3 separate regions of the Homo sapiens genome follow, and all the other regions are linked to region 3. Evidence: promoter capture Hi-C in 16 types of primary human blood cells and fetal thymus (Javierre and others, 2016). All regions are on one chromosome and are shown on one strand. Each heading gives the region's core, a stretch centred on a gene start or on the middle of the fragment in contact. The rest is flanking DNA. Distances are from core to core; before and after follow the strand shown. Region 1 overlaps DIAPH1 (diaphanous related formin 1). Region 2 overlaps DIAPH1 (diaphanous related formin 1). Region 3 holds the start of IK (IK cytokine).

Region 1 (3,761 bases), core at 29-2,528, 930 kb after region 3:
GAAGTCAGGATCAGCCCCGTTCTTGTGCAGAACTATCTGGGAAATACATTCTTCAATCAACTTATAGTACTGAGGTCTACAAGAGAATAAAAACAGGGTCATCAAAGGAAAATCAAAATATAATTTTCAGAAGTATTCAGGACCAAGAAAACGTAATTGCTCTGACAACTGAGAGACCTGGAAAAACTTTTGTAAAGTTAACACAAGTATTGCTGCCATGCTAAGAAAACTCCTTTTTCCACATCAGCTACCCTACCCTATCTACTTCAAATAATCAAAACTTCTTGCCATCCGCTCCTAGTGCCAATACTTTCCCATCTAAAAATTTGCGTTTGATCCTTCCTGTGATGGATAGTGCTATTGCTAAATCTATACTTCCAGGAAACTAGAAAGAATTTTAAATTGCCACTTCTGTTTGCTAACATCTTCATCCTATTTACCTACTCCCCTCCAAAAACAGAACGGCATTTCACCTTATACACTCTGACCTCTGCCATAGGGATGCCTTTGAGTTGGATTAAAGAAATAAGACAACTTCCTTTATATCGGTGACTAATGAACCCTAATCTTGGGTCTTTGTCTTTACATTTTCCTTTTACAGAACAATCTTTGAATTTAAGGAATTCACTCTCTCCACTTAGGCTCAAATTCAAAACTTCTCATAAGCACAGCATCTTACCTGGCCTCATAGTCATTTCGGACCAAGAGTAAGTGCTGCAGGATGGAAAGGAAGTGTGGCTCTGCCTTTGAATCCTTCACTGTGTTTAAGAGAATCTGAAAGACTTCATTAAAGTCAGTGGAAAAGGGAAATAGGCTAAGGAAAGCAAATATGCAGAAATTATGTTTGACAGGTGGCTTATTTAACTCTTGAAAAAGCTAGGGAAAAGTAGCAAGACACCACTTCCATTCTACTGGCTGTTCTTCCTGTAAACATCACCAGAAACTTTAAGCTTTCTAAAACGTCCTTTAAGGGACCAGTGAATTGGGTGGTACTATACACACAGAGGATTCCTAGTAAGTACTTGGCTTGAAGATCAGGCAGTAGACAGAAAATAAGAGGTAACTGCCTCAAAGTCACTTACTGAAAATATTAACAGGTAACTAAATTACTCCCTCTGTCAGTCCAAACATCTCTAAAAGCCAGTTCTACATCTTAGTAAGCTAAGCTATCACATTCTAGGAAGTTTACACTGATTTTGATGGCTTCCATGCTCAACAACCCTCAGATCACCTTTACTGACTTCCCTGATCTATGATAAGCTAAGTAAAGCCAGCGCAATAAAAATACACCTGCCTTATTTAATGAGAAGACACATAAGCCTGATGCTCTGTTCTGAGTCATCATCTCCCAAACCATTCCACACAGGGATCAGGGAACTAAATACAATGAATGTCTCATCTGCCTTGAACCTAGTCAGCAAAAGGATATTCCATCTCCATGCGAATGTCATCCAGCCGTCCCTTCAGGTCATAGGAATCCTCTTCCCCTTGTTCATCAAACACATTTAGTTGCACTCTCATATCTTCATTTTCAATCTCTCGAAGGTCCTGTCAACAACAAAAGTAGAAGTCAGGGAACCCAAAAGTATCCTCTGTGGTTAGAAACCTAAGCTTTTCAACCTGGTTTTTAATTGAAAACCAGAATTATCCCCGGGATTATTGGGGCTGTAGAGCAAGAAGGAACCAGTCTAGCCTTTCTAATGAAGTGTAATATCTTACCTGCAACACCTGATGTAGCCCCAAACGCATCAGTTCACTTCTGATGTGAACTCGGAAGTCAAGTTCCTCCGCTGGTGTGATGAGAGCATTGATCAGCTGTAGGCATCCAACCTAAAATAAGAAAATTCAGCAGCTATGTCAATGCTAACTCCTGGAGATCAAGAATCCATTTTCTTTACATGCATTCTTAGGTCCCCAATACAACCTGAAAGATACAATACAAAAACTCTAAAGATGACTTTTCTACTATAGCAATGAGACCTGGTTTGAGTACAGATCCGGAGAGCCTAAACTCTAAATGGTTTCAAGGATTTGAGAGTATATGTTATTGTAGGTCTTGGTTTTCCTAGATTGTAAATAGATATCATGCCTTTTTCCATCTCATAATGAGGAAAACAGTTCATTCTTTACCTTCTTAGAAAGAAGGTTAATCATTTTCCCTTCATAACAGATTCTGAAATGTAAAATATATAGTTGGGAGGCACTCCATGTATTTTATTAAAAGGTCAAATGAATTTAAGTCTGTCCATCTTGAATTCTATTCTTGGGCCCAGTTTCAGGGGATATACATGCCTTCAGTGCAATAGTGGTTCCACTTTTTAATCCATCCAGCAGCGGCTGGAAACGTTCCACTTCATCCATCTCAGCTCTTTCTGTCATTGCCTCCAAAACCCTTTCATTCCTGCCCAAGAGAAAGGAAACGGAGAGAACTTTCCAGGTACTGTGACACGGACACGTATAATGAGTAAATTACACAGGGGCACAGACCGATTAGGAAACAGGACATTATCAGTGTTCCGGATTTCTCACATTATTATTCTCACCACTCAGTTTCCAGAAACTGCTGAAAGCTAAGGACCATCTCTTCAGGGAAATGCATTCCCTACAATCCATCCCTAGGCTCCTGTCCATAAATACCAAATCAAGTCCCCTATTCAATGAAGTATAAATTGATACAACTTTTGGAGGGGCATTTAACAGTACTAATCAATTTCTCATGCATGTAACATATAGTCTACTTCTAGAAATGTATCCAACATATGGGCATAAATGTGAAAGAAGATATGCACAAGGATGTTCACTGCAGTATCATTTGTAAAAATGATCACCTAGAACAGATAGTGAAATCTGCTTTAAAAAATATCTGTAAGTTGGCTGGGCGCAGTGGCTCACGCTTGTAATCCTAGCACTTTGGGAGGCCGAGGCGGGCGGATCACAAGGTCAGGAGTTCGAGACCAGCCTGGCCAATAGGGAGAAACCCCATCTCTACTAAAAATACAAAAATTAGCCAGGCGTGGTGGCGGACTCCTGTAGTCCCAGCTACTCGGGAGGCTGAGGAAGGAGAATCGCTTGAACCTGGGAGGAGGAGTTTGCAGTGGGCCGAGATCGCGCCACTGCACTCCAGCCTGGGGAACAGAGCGAGCCTCCGTCTCAAAAAAAAAAAAGGAAAAAAAAAAAATCTGTAAGTCCAGCAACAGGGGAATTGTTAAATAAATTATAGGCCATACATACATGTATATGGAATACTAAATAGCTACTAAAGATAATAAGGTAGATCTGTAAGTACCGACATAGAAGAAATGTCCAAGATCTACTATTAAAAAGAAACAGGTTGAAAAGAATGATTTAGCTTTGGTTAAACCAAATCCCTCTTCAATAATAAAAATCTATCCTATATATGCAGTTAGTTTTATAGGCATAAGTGTCATTCCTCAGCTCTTAAGATACTATCTTTTGCGGTGGCAGATGTCTAGAATCAAGGGAACGCAATATGTTTGTCTATGCTTAGGAAACGTTCTATGAGACTATACCATGCCATTAACAGTCATTCTCTTTGCAGAATAGGATTTGGCAAAGGGATGAGGCAGTTAAATTTTACTTTATATACTTCTATATCGTTTGAGTTTTAAAAATAACATTGTGCCACTTCTGAATTAAAAAAAAAAAGAATAGTAAAAAGAAACCCTCATCCTAGACAATACAGATATTAATGGAGATATAGGAGACATTTTGCTATACCTCTGATGACCAGTGGAACATTC
Region 2 (3,837 bases), core at 273-2,772, 960 kb after region 3:
GTAATGTCTTTCCTTATGAATGAGACCAAGGAACCTTGACTGGAGCCCACAGGACAATAAGCCCTCAATAATGACAAAGTCTACCTATGGGTAAAATGGGAAATAAGTATCACTACAGCCAAAAATAATTTCCTTTCATATCCTAATCTACCTACCCAGAAAGAACAGGTAAGGTAAGGCATATGTCACTTAGAATCATGCAGAACAGAGAGATAAGGGTCCAGCTCTGATTAATTTCTTTATTCAGGATTGACACAGTTCCTTAGGGTACTGAGGCAACAGAGGGTCATAATAGGATCTTGAATTCAGTTACCATTGAGGCCTGATCTAGCTTTGCCACAAAAAAAAATTTTTTTTTTTGAGACGAAGTCTCACTCTGTTGCCTATGCTGGAGTGCAGTGGCGCAATCTTGGCTCACTGCAAGCTACGCCCCTGCGTTCAGACCATTCTCCTGTCTCAGCCTCCCGAGTAGCTGGAACTACAGGCGCCCATCACCTCACTCGGCTAATTTTTTGTATATTTAGTAGAGACGGGGTTTCACCGTATTAGCCAGGATGGTCTTGAACTCCTGACCTCGTGATCCACCTGCCTTGGCCTCCCAAAGTGCTGGGATTACAAGCGTGAGCCACCACGCCTGGCCTTTGCCACAAAATTTATCACATTTCCACTAAAGGAATGTAAAGTCAGGGTAAGCTTTTAAAAATCGACCACAGTTTCAGTCTTCCTATCTCTAGGGTTCTGTTGTCTCAGAGGACTAGTATGAAGAATAAATAATAAAACAGATATAAAGCACTTTGTTTTGCAAAGTACTTTGTAAAAGTTAAATAATATATGATGGAACCACTGAAACTGGCTAGTTTCCCTTCTTCAATTCCCACTCCTTAAACAGAAGTCAGTCAGAACTAAAGAAAATGAAATAATGGACAACTTTAAATGCACAGAAGAACTTTCCCTTCCATTTTCAAGGAATGGCCCAAAGACAACAGCAATTGAATCAACATTTCATCTAGCATTTACAGAGAAACAAACTAGATTCTGACATCACCACTTATTGGTGCCTGCAGCCTACACAGGCGTTGTGTAGAGTTGGAGTACCCACTTCAAAAAGAAAATAAAGGAAAGAAAAAGGGTACCTCAGAGGAAAGGAAGTCTAGAAGAGGGGCACAAAATGACCAGGAATTTAAAAATATAAACTATAAACCTAGAAAAGCTAAATGTGTTTAAGGGAAAGAAGGCTGAAGATTACCTAGCAGTCCCCAGAAATGGAAATGATAGGCTCATGTTCTCCATGACCACTGAGGAAAAAGTGCTGAAGGATTAGGTAAGACTGTAGCAGCTCCTCCATTTGGTTCAGAGTGCCTCAGCAGCCCCACAGCTAAACTAAGCACTGGAGAGTTAAACTCATTAGTTCCACAATGTATACATATATCAAAACATCATGTTGTATACCATAAACAATTTGTATGTCAATTATACCTCAATAAAGCTGAGAAAACATAAATAAATAATAAACTTGTTAGAATTCATACAACAGCCAACAAAGGAAACATAGTAAAAGACAGTCCAATATCTTTTATTCCTAATTAAAAGAGTTCTATCAATCTACCCCTGCCTTCCAAAATCAGCATCTTTTTCCTAACCCCACCCGGGAACAATGAAAGATTCTAGGCAGTGGCCAGTGTCAAGCACAAGTTAGAAATGCCGTATAAAGAACAGTAGTAACTGTAGTCCATTCTGTATTTCAATAATTTGCTTATAAATTTGAAATAATTTACTTATAAATGTAAAGCAACTAACTTAATGTCCTGCACAACTGTCTAAAACTGTTGGTGAGTCTGCTTTCCAATAAACCTTATTTCCCAATTATAATTAAAATGAGGGGAAAACTATCTTAATATTAGAATTGGATCCTCTAACAGGTCCAAAGTATCACTTCTCTAATAGTTCAAGAAGGCAAGTACCTTGGGGAAAGGGAAAAAGTAACTTTTTGCCTACAGCTCAGCTCATCCTAAAGCCCTGCAACTGGCAGCCGGCATCCTAGGTAGTTGATAGCCCAGAGGGAAGGAGGAAAGGCCACGCTGGTATCACTATTCCAGCACAGCAGAACAGGTAGAAACCGGGCTGAGGATGCTGCATTCCTCCAAGTCCATCCATACAAACTGCCAGTCCTTGCACTATAAAGCACACATGGTTTGGGCAAACAAGCTGCCAACAGAGAAAGTGCTCAGAGTCTGGAAGTCCTACTTTCCTATCAAGTATCACAAGGTGTAGCAGGCACACCGGTATCTTCTGCTGTTCAGAAGGTGAAAGCCAGCATGCATAGTCTGTCATTTGGTGACAGAACAGTAAGCAAAGCTTCCTTCCTTTCAAACATTCTAAGGTTCCAATACAACTTTTGAATACATATACAGGAAACAAAACATAATGTTAACCAATTTTTCCAAAATTTCAACATATTTCTCAAGCTTCAAATATTGATACTTGCTCTTCCTTTCTTACTAGGCCTCTCCCTCTGCTGCCTAAGCTTAGAGAAGACTATGATCACTCCTTTAAAAAAAGGGGTGTTGTCCATTCATTTAGAAATAGTCAGTGACTCAGGAATGCTGTTTCCCAATCGCCGTAGCAACTGTCTTCTCCTCCCATGTTATGATGTGAGTAGCAGGACATCTACTCTTCCTCAAGGGTGGGCATGTGTGTGACACACCCAAAGCCTAGCAGACAGCAGGAAGTTTCTGCAACTGCTACCGCTTCTACATACAGGCACCAAGTATGAGGACACCTTGTTTTAAATCCCATTCCTAAAGTCCTTTCATTTCTAAATAATCTCTTTTTTGTATCCTCACACCACTCCTGAATACCCAGAAATAATCCTACCCCTACTGACAACCGCTTAACTAATCCAAAAATTATACTACTACTCAATAAGCCAGACTTGATCCTACGAAACCACAGAAAATATTTTTTGGCCCGGTACACATTCAGAATAAGATTTTGAAAAAATCTTAGGGAGGAGGGGAGATGAGCATGAAGATGAAATCTTATTATTTCTCTACCACCAGAAATATAAGTGTTAAAATAAGGTTGTTCTGATACTTCTAGCAATTGTACTTGTGTTGAACTATGTTCTAACACAAACACACACAGAATTTCATGCCAAAGTACTTAGGATCTAAAGAAACTTCCATATATCATGTACTGTTCTCTTTGGTTCTAACCATTAAAAAAAATTAATTTCTGAAAAACAAAGTATGGGACTGTTTTACTCTTTTTATATACATTTGTATTTTCTTAGAAAAAAACTATCACTTTTAGAATACACATACATTTCCATTTCAAATTAAGGTGGCAATTTTCAAAGATTAGAAAGCTGGAAAATTTTTATGACACTATTTTAAAAGCAAAAAACATCTGTAAACTATAAAGGCAATGTTGTAAAAATATTTGTGCATAGAGATAATGACTAAAATATACAAAGACTGTAAAATAAAAATGAAAAATAGAAATTTAGGGTTCTTACGTATTGTTTCAAAAATATATATGTGTTTTCAAAAAAAAAGCACACACAAAAAATCATTAGCACATCATCTAAAAGCAAAACATCATCATCCAATTACCATAGGCAAAATGCCTATCAGTATTTACTCTTCTCCAGTGGTATTTTGCTTAAGGAAACACTCCTGACAAGGCACAGTTACAAAGTTTAGGTATGACAATGCAATGTGAGAAAGAATACTGAGAAGAATATTAGTGGAGTCTAAAACCTAGGTCATCTAATTACACGACTTTGAGCAACTTAATACCACTAGGCCTCAGTGTCCTCCTAATTTTAAGAGGCTG
Region 3 (3,574 bases), core at 148-2,647:
CTTCTCCAATTATTAGTGCATGTCTAATGTCTACTGTGTCTCACAGATATCTACTCTGAGAACCAATCTGCTTAAGGTGGTCACTCTCCTCCACCTCCTCCCGTCATTCCCAGGGCACCATATAGTTAAAAGCTGTGATTAAAATCCTGTTATTCAGTATGTATAAACATTTATTGCATACCTACAATGTGTTAGGCAACATGATAGGAAAATTTCATTTTGCAATACATTGCCATGCCAGTCTTAGAGGGGTAAGTGCATTCTAGGAAGGGGAATAAATGTAAAGGCTCAATCCTGTTAAACTCTAGCTGCATCTAAAGTTGCAGCTAGAGTTTAACAATAGTGCAAAACAAAGTTTTGATTCCGTTTTCTAATCTCTACAGTGAGAAAAGAAGAACACGCTTCCTCCTAACTAATGAAGATTAAATGAGTTAGGCAGGGAAGCACTCAGCACAGGGCCCAGCTCTATGTGCAAAATTACTGAGATTCTCACACACTACCTGGACTGACACTGGCTACACGTTATTTGGAGAAACTATATTGACTAACTTCTCTCCTGTCTGAAGCCCATTCTTAACTACAAAAACGTCAGCTCCTGGTCCCTACGCAGGATTCGGTCAGCCTGCATACTTATGTTGCCCGGAATACAACGCATCATATAACCCTGCGAATATAAATTTCTTCATGGAAACAAGATCAACAGCAAGGCTAAAGTCCGAGTTCTAGTTTCTCCACGGGTTTCTGCACGACCTTGGGCGGTCCCTTCTCTTCTCAAACCCTTGTTCCCCTACCGGAGCCCCAGACCCCTGGCGTCCCGCACTCACCGTAGCGGGCCCAGAGCTTGGGCTGCACATCGGAGCATTCGCGGATTAGGATGGGTAGGTCGGGATTCGCCTTCTTCAGCTCCACGTAGCGTTTCTCAATGAAGTCCCTGCGGGGCCGGAGAGAGCGCCGCGCGTGCTGTGGGCGGGGGCTTCCCTCAACTTCAGGGAGGTCGAGGTCGTGACCCTGGCGTCCCGAAGCCCGCCCGCCTCACCACGCCGCGCCTCACCTGACGCCCTGGCTGCCGGGCGAGCGCTGACATAAGTGGATGCGAATCTCACGCAGGCCCAGCTTTGCCCCGACTCCTCGACTTGCTGCGGCCGCCGCCATCCTTGTTAATATCGAAGTCGCCAATTCCAGGTCTTCAGGCCAAGTGCTCCGGTCTGACCAACCGCGGACCCTAAAGCCTAGCCCATAGGCTGCATGAGGCAGGGGCGGGGTAAAGCTTGGCCAATGATATAAAAGTATTGTAGGACCGCTGCGAGGTCAATTTCTTTGCGCTCGGGGTTGGTCGGAGGGAAAAACAGGAAGCGGAAAGGCTGCGAACGCAAAGCAGTGTGGGTTGATTCTGAGGTGCACTGTGGGAAAGAGCTTGTCGCTGCGGTGTTGCTGTTGGAGACTCGATTGTTGGTGACAGCGAAAGAACGATAACAAAATGCCGGAGCGAGATAGTAAGGCTCAGGCCATCCGTTATTTCTTCCCCATGGCACTTGGGGCACTTGGCGCATTATTGTAGCTTCTGAGCTTAAGCCGGGTGTGTGTGTGTGTGTGTGTGTGTGTGTGTGTGTGTGTATGTATGTATGTGTGACGCTTGAGCCCGGAGAAGCCACAGGGTCCTAAGTGAGGCCGACAGCTCCAAACTCCGTCCCCAGTCCTCACTCCTACTCCAAGTGATGATGGGCGGCTTTTGTGCGTGGATCGCTTTCCCCCAGTCCTGTCCCCATACTTAATCCTGGGTTGCGCGTATTTATCTTTTACGTAGTATTTTAGACGTGATCTTCCGGAAGTCTTCTCTGATCCTCCAGCGCAGGATTAGGGTCCTCTGCTTTGTGCTCCCACAGCTTCTTGTAGTTTCCTATTTCAGCACTTATTACATTGTGTTGACACTGTCGCTGTTCTAACTTTTGTTCTGTATTGTTCACTACTATATCTCAAATTTTTGCATAGGATCTGACACGTAAGAGACTGATTAAATTAACGTCAATTTTTTTTGTCAGGTGAGCCGTTCTCCAACCCTTTGGCCCCCGATGGCCACGATGTGGATGATCCTCACTCCTTCCACCAGTGAGTATTTTGTGCTAGGACCATGGAAATGAGTTGGGCAATGAATAGAAAAGTGGTGGTGATGGTGAAAGAATTCTGAATGTCTTGTCATCAAGGATGGTAAAAAATTATACCCGCTGGCCCTTTATCTCTGTGAGCCTTAACTGGATCAGGCCAAGTGCATAAGGGTATTAGAAGGGAAATTCCTGCAGGAAAGGTGTTAAGTTTTTTTTTTTTTTTATACGTGTTGTGTAATTACACATTATATAGGAATTACTTCTTCCAATAGCAAATTAAAACATAGGAAATAAGGGTAAAATCATCTTTTTATTTTTTTTGAGACTGAGTTTCGCTCTTGTTGCTCAGGCTGGAATGCAGTGGTGCGATCTCGGCTCACCACAACCTCCGCCTCCCGGGTTCAAGCAATTCTCCTGCCTCAGCCTTCCGAGTAGCTGGGATTACAGGCATGTTCCACTACGCCCGGCTAATTTTGTATTTTTAGTAGAGATGGGGTTTCTCCATGTTGATCAGGCTGGTCTTGAAATCCCGACTTCAGGTGATCCACCCGCCTCTGCCTCCCAAAGTGGTGGGAGTACAGGCGTGAGCCACCGTGCCTGGCCCCCGATAAAATCATCTTTGATAACATCCCCAATTCCAGTCCATTTCTTTTTTTTTTTCTTTTCTTTTCTTTTCTTTCTTTTTTTTTTTTTTTGAGACGGAGTCTCACTGTTACCCAGGCTGGAGTGCAGTGATGCAATCTTGGCTCACTGCAACCTCTGCCTCCTGAGTTCAAGCGGTTCTCCTGCCTCAGCCTCCCAAGTAGCTGGGACTACAGGCATGTGCCACCATGCACGACTGATTTTTTTTTTTGTATTTTTAGTAGAGACAGGGTTTCACTGTGTTCGTCAGGCTGGTCTTGAACTCCTGGCCTGAAGTGATCCACCCGCCTCAGCCTCCTAAAGTGCTGGCATTACAGGCGTGAGCCACCGTGCCCAGCCTCAGTCCTTTTCTTAGAAGTAACCACAGTTACCTTTTTTGGCATATCTTTTCCTCCCGTTGCCCAGGCTGGAGTTCAATGGCATTATTTCTGCTCACAGCAACCTTTGCCTCCTGGGCTCAAGCAATTCTTCTGCCTCAGTTTCCCCAGTAGCTGGGATTACAGGCATGCCCCACCATGCTTGGCTAATTTTTGTATTAGTAGAGACAGGGTTTCGCTATGTTGGCCAGGCTGGTCTTGAACTCCTGACCTCAAATGATCTGCCCGTCTCGGCGGCCCAAAGTGCTGGGATTACAGGCGTGAGCCACTGCGCCTGGCCCTCCTACTCTTTTTTAAATGCATTTATACACATACATGCATATCTGAGGAAAACACAACATTGCTTTGTGATTTAAAATATTTGAGTTAAATGATATTATGCTGTATATATCATTTTTGCAACTTGCTTCTTTTTAAACCCTGCTCAGTGTTTCTGAGATTATCTTTCAGAGC

Evidence for each region. Contacts are between HindIII fragments. The CHiCAGO score rates a contact against its expected background, and 5 or more counts as called.
Region 1: a contact is called between a fragment that was not itself captured here and the fragment with the promoter of IK in region 3, in 2 of 17 cell types (M0 macrophages and erythroblasts). The highest score is 6.0, in M0 macrophages.
Region 2: a contact is called between a fragment that was not itself captured here and the fragment with the promoter of IK in region 3, in 1 of 17 cell types (M0 macrophages). The highest score is 7.6, in M0 macrophages.

The regions. Positions count from the first base shown.
Region 1 is chr5:141,576,796-141,580,556 of GRCh38, forward strand. DIAPH1 (diaphanous related formin 1) reads right to left here. Exons shown (of 28, transcript NM_005219.5): 9 at 2,293-2,401; 10 at 1,720-1,830; 11 at 1,430-1,548; 12 at 680-796; 13 at 1-76. Among named protein-coding and RNA genes, the nearest start is that of DIAPH1-AS1, 20 kb to the left of the region's middle. The HindIII fragment of the contact is 661 bases long and covers 949-1,609 here.
Region 2 is chr5:141,601,875-141,605,711 of GRCh38, forward strand. The region is part of intron 1 of DIAPH1 (diaphanous related formin 1); the gene reads right to left. Among named protein-coding and RNA genes, the nearest start is that of DIAPH1, 15 kb to the right of the region's middle. RefSeq lists an enhancer at 3,762-3,837. The HindIII fragment of the contact is 1,662 bases long and covers 692-2,353 here.
Region 3 is chr5:140,646,432-140,650,005 of GRCh38, forward strand. IK (IK cytokine) reads left to right here and starts at 1,398. Exons shown (of 20, transcript NM_006083.4): 1 at 1,398-1,493; 2 at 2,040-2,106. The coding sequence starts at 1,478. NDUFA2 (NADH:ubiquinone oxidoreductase subunit A2) reads right to left here and starts at 1,199. Exons shown (of 3, transcript NM_002488.5): 1 at 1,052-1,199; 2 at 825-931. The coding sequence starts at 1,152. It overlaps MIR3655 (microRNA 3655), which reads left to right and starts at 1,413; the gene lies at 1,413-1,495. It also overlaps a transcript of TMCO6 not described here. RefSeq lists enhancers at 777-1,196, 937-1,472. The HindIII fragment of the contact is 8,030 bases long and covers 1,266-3,574 here.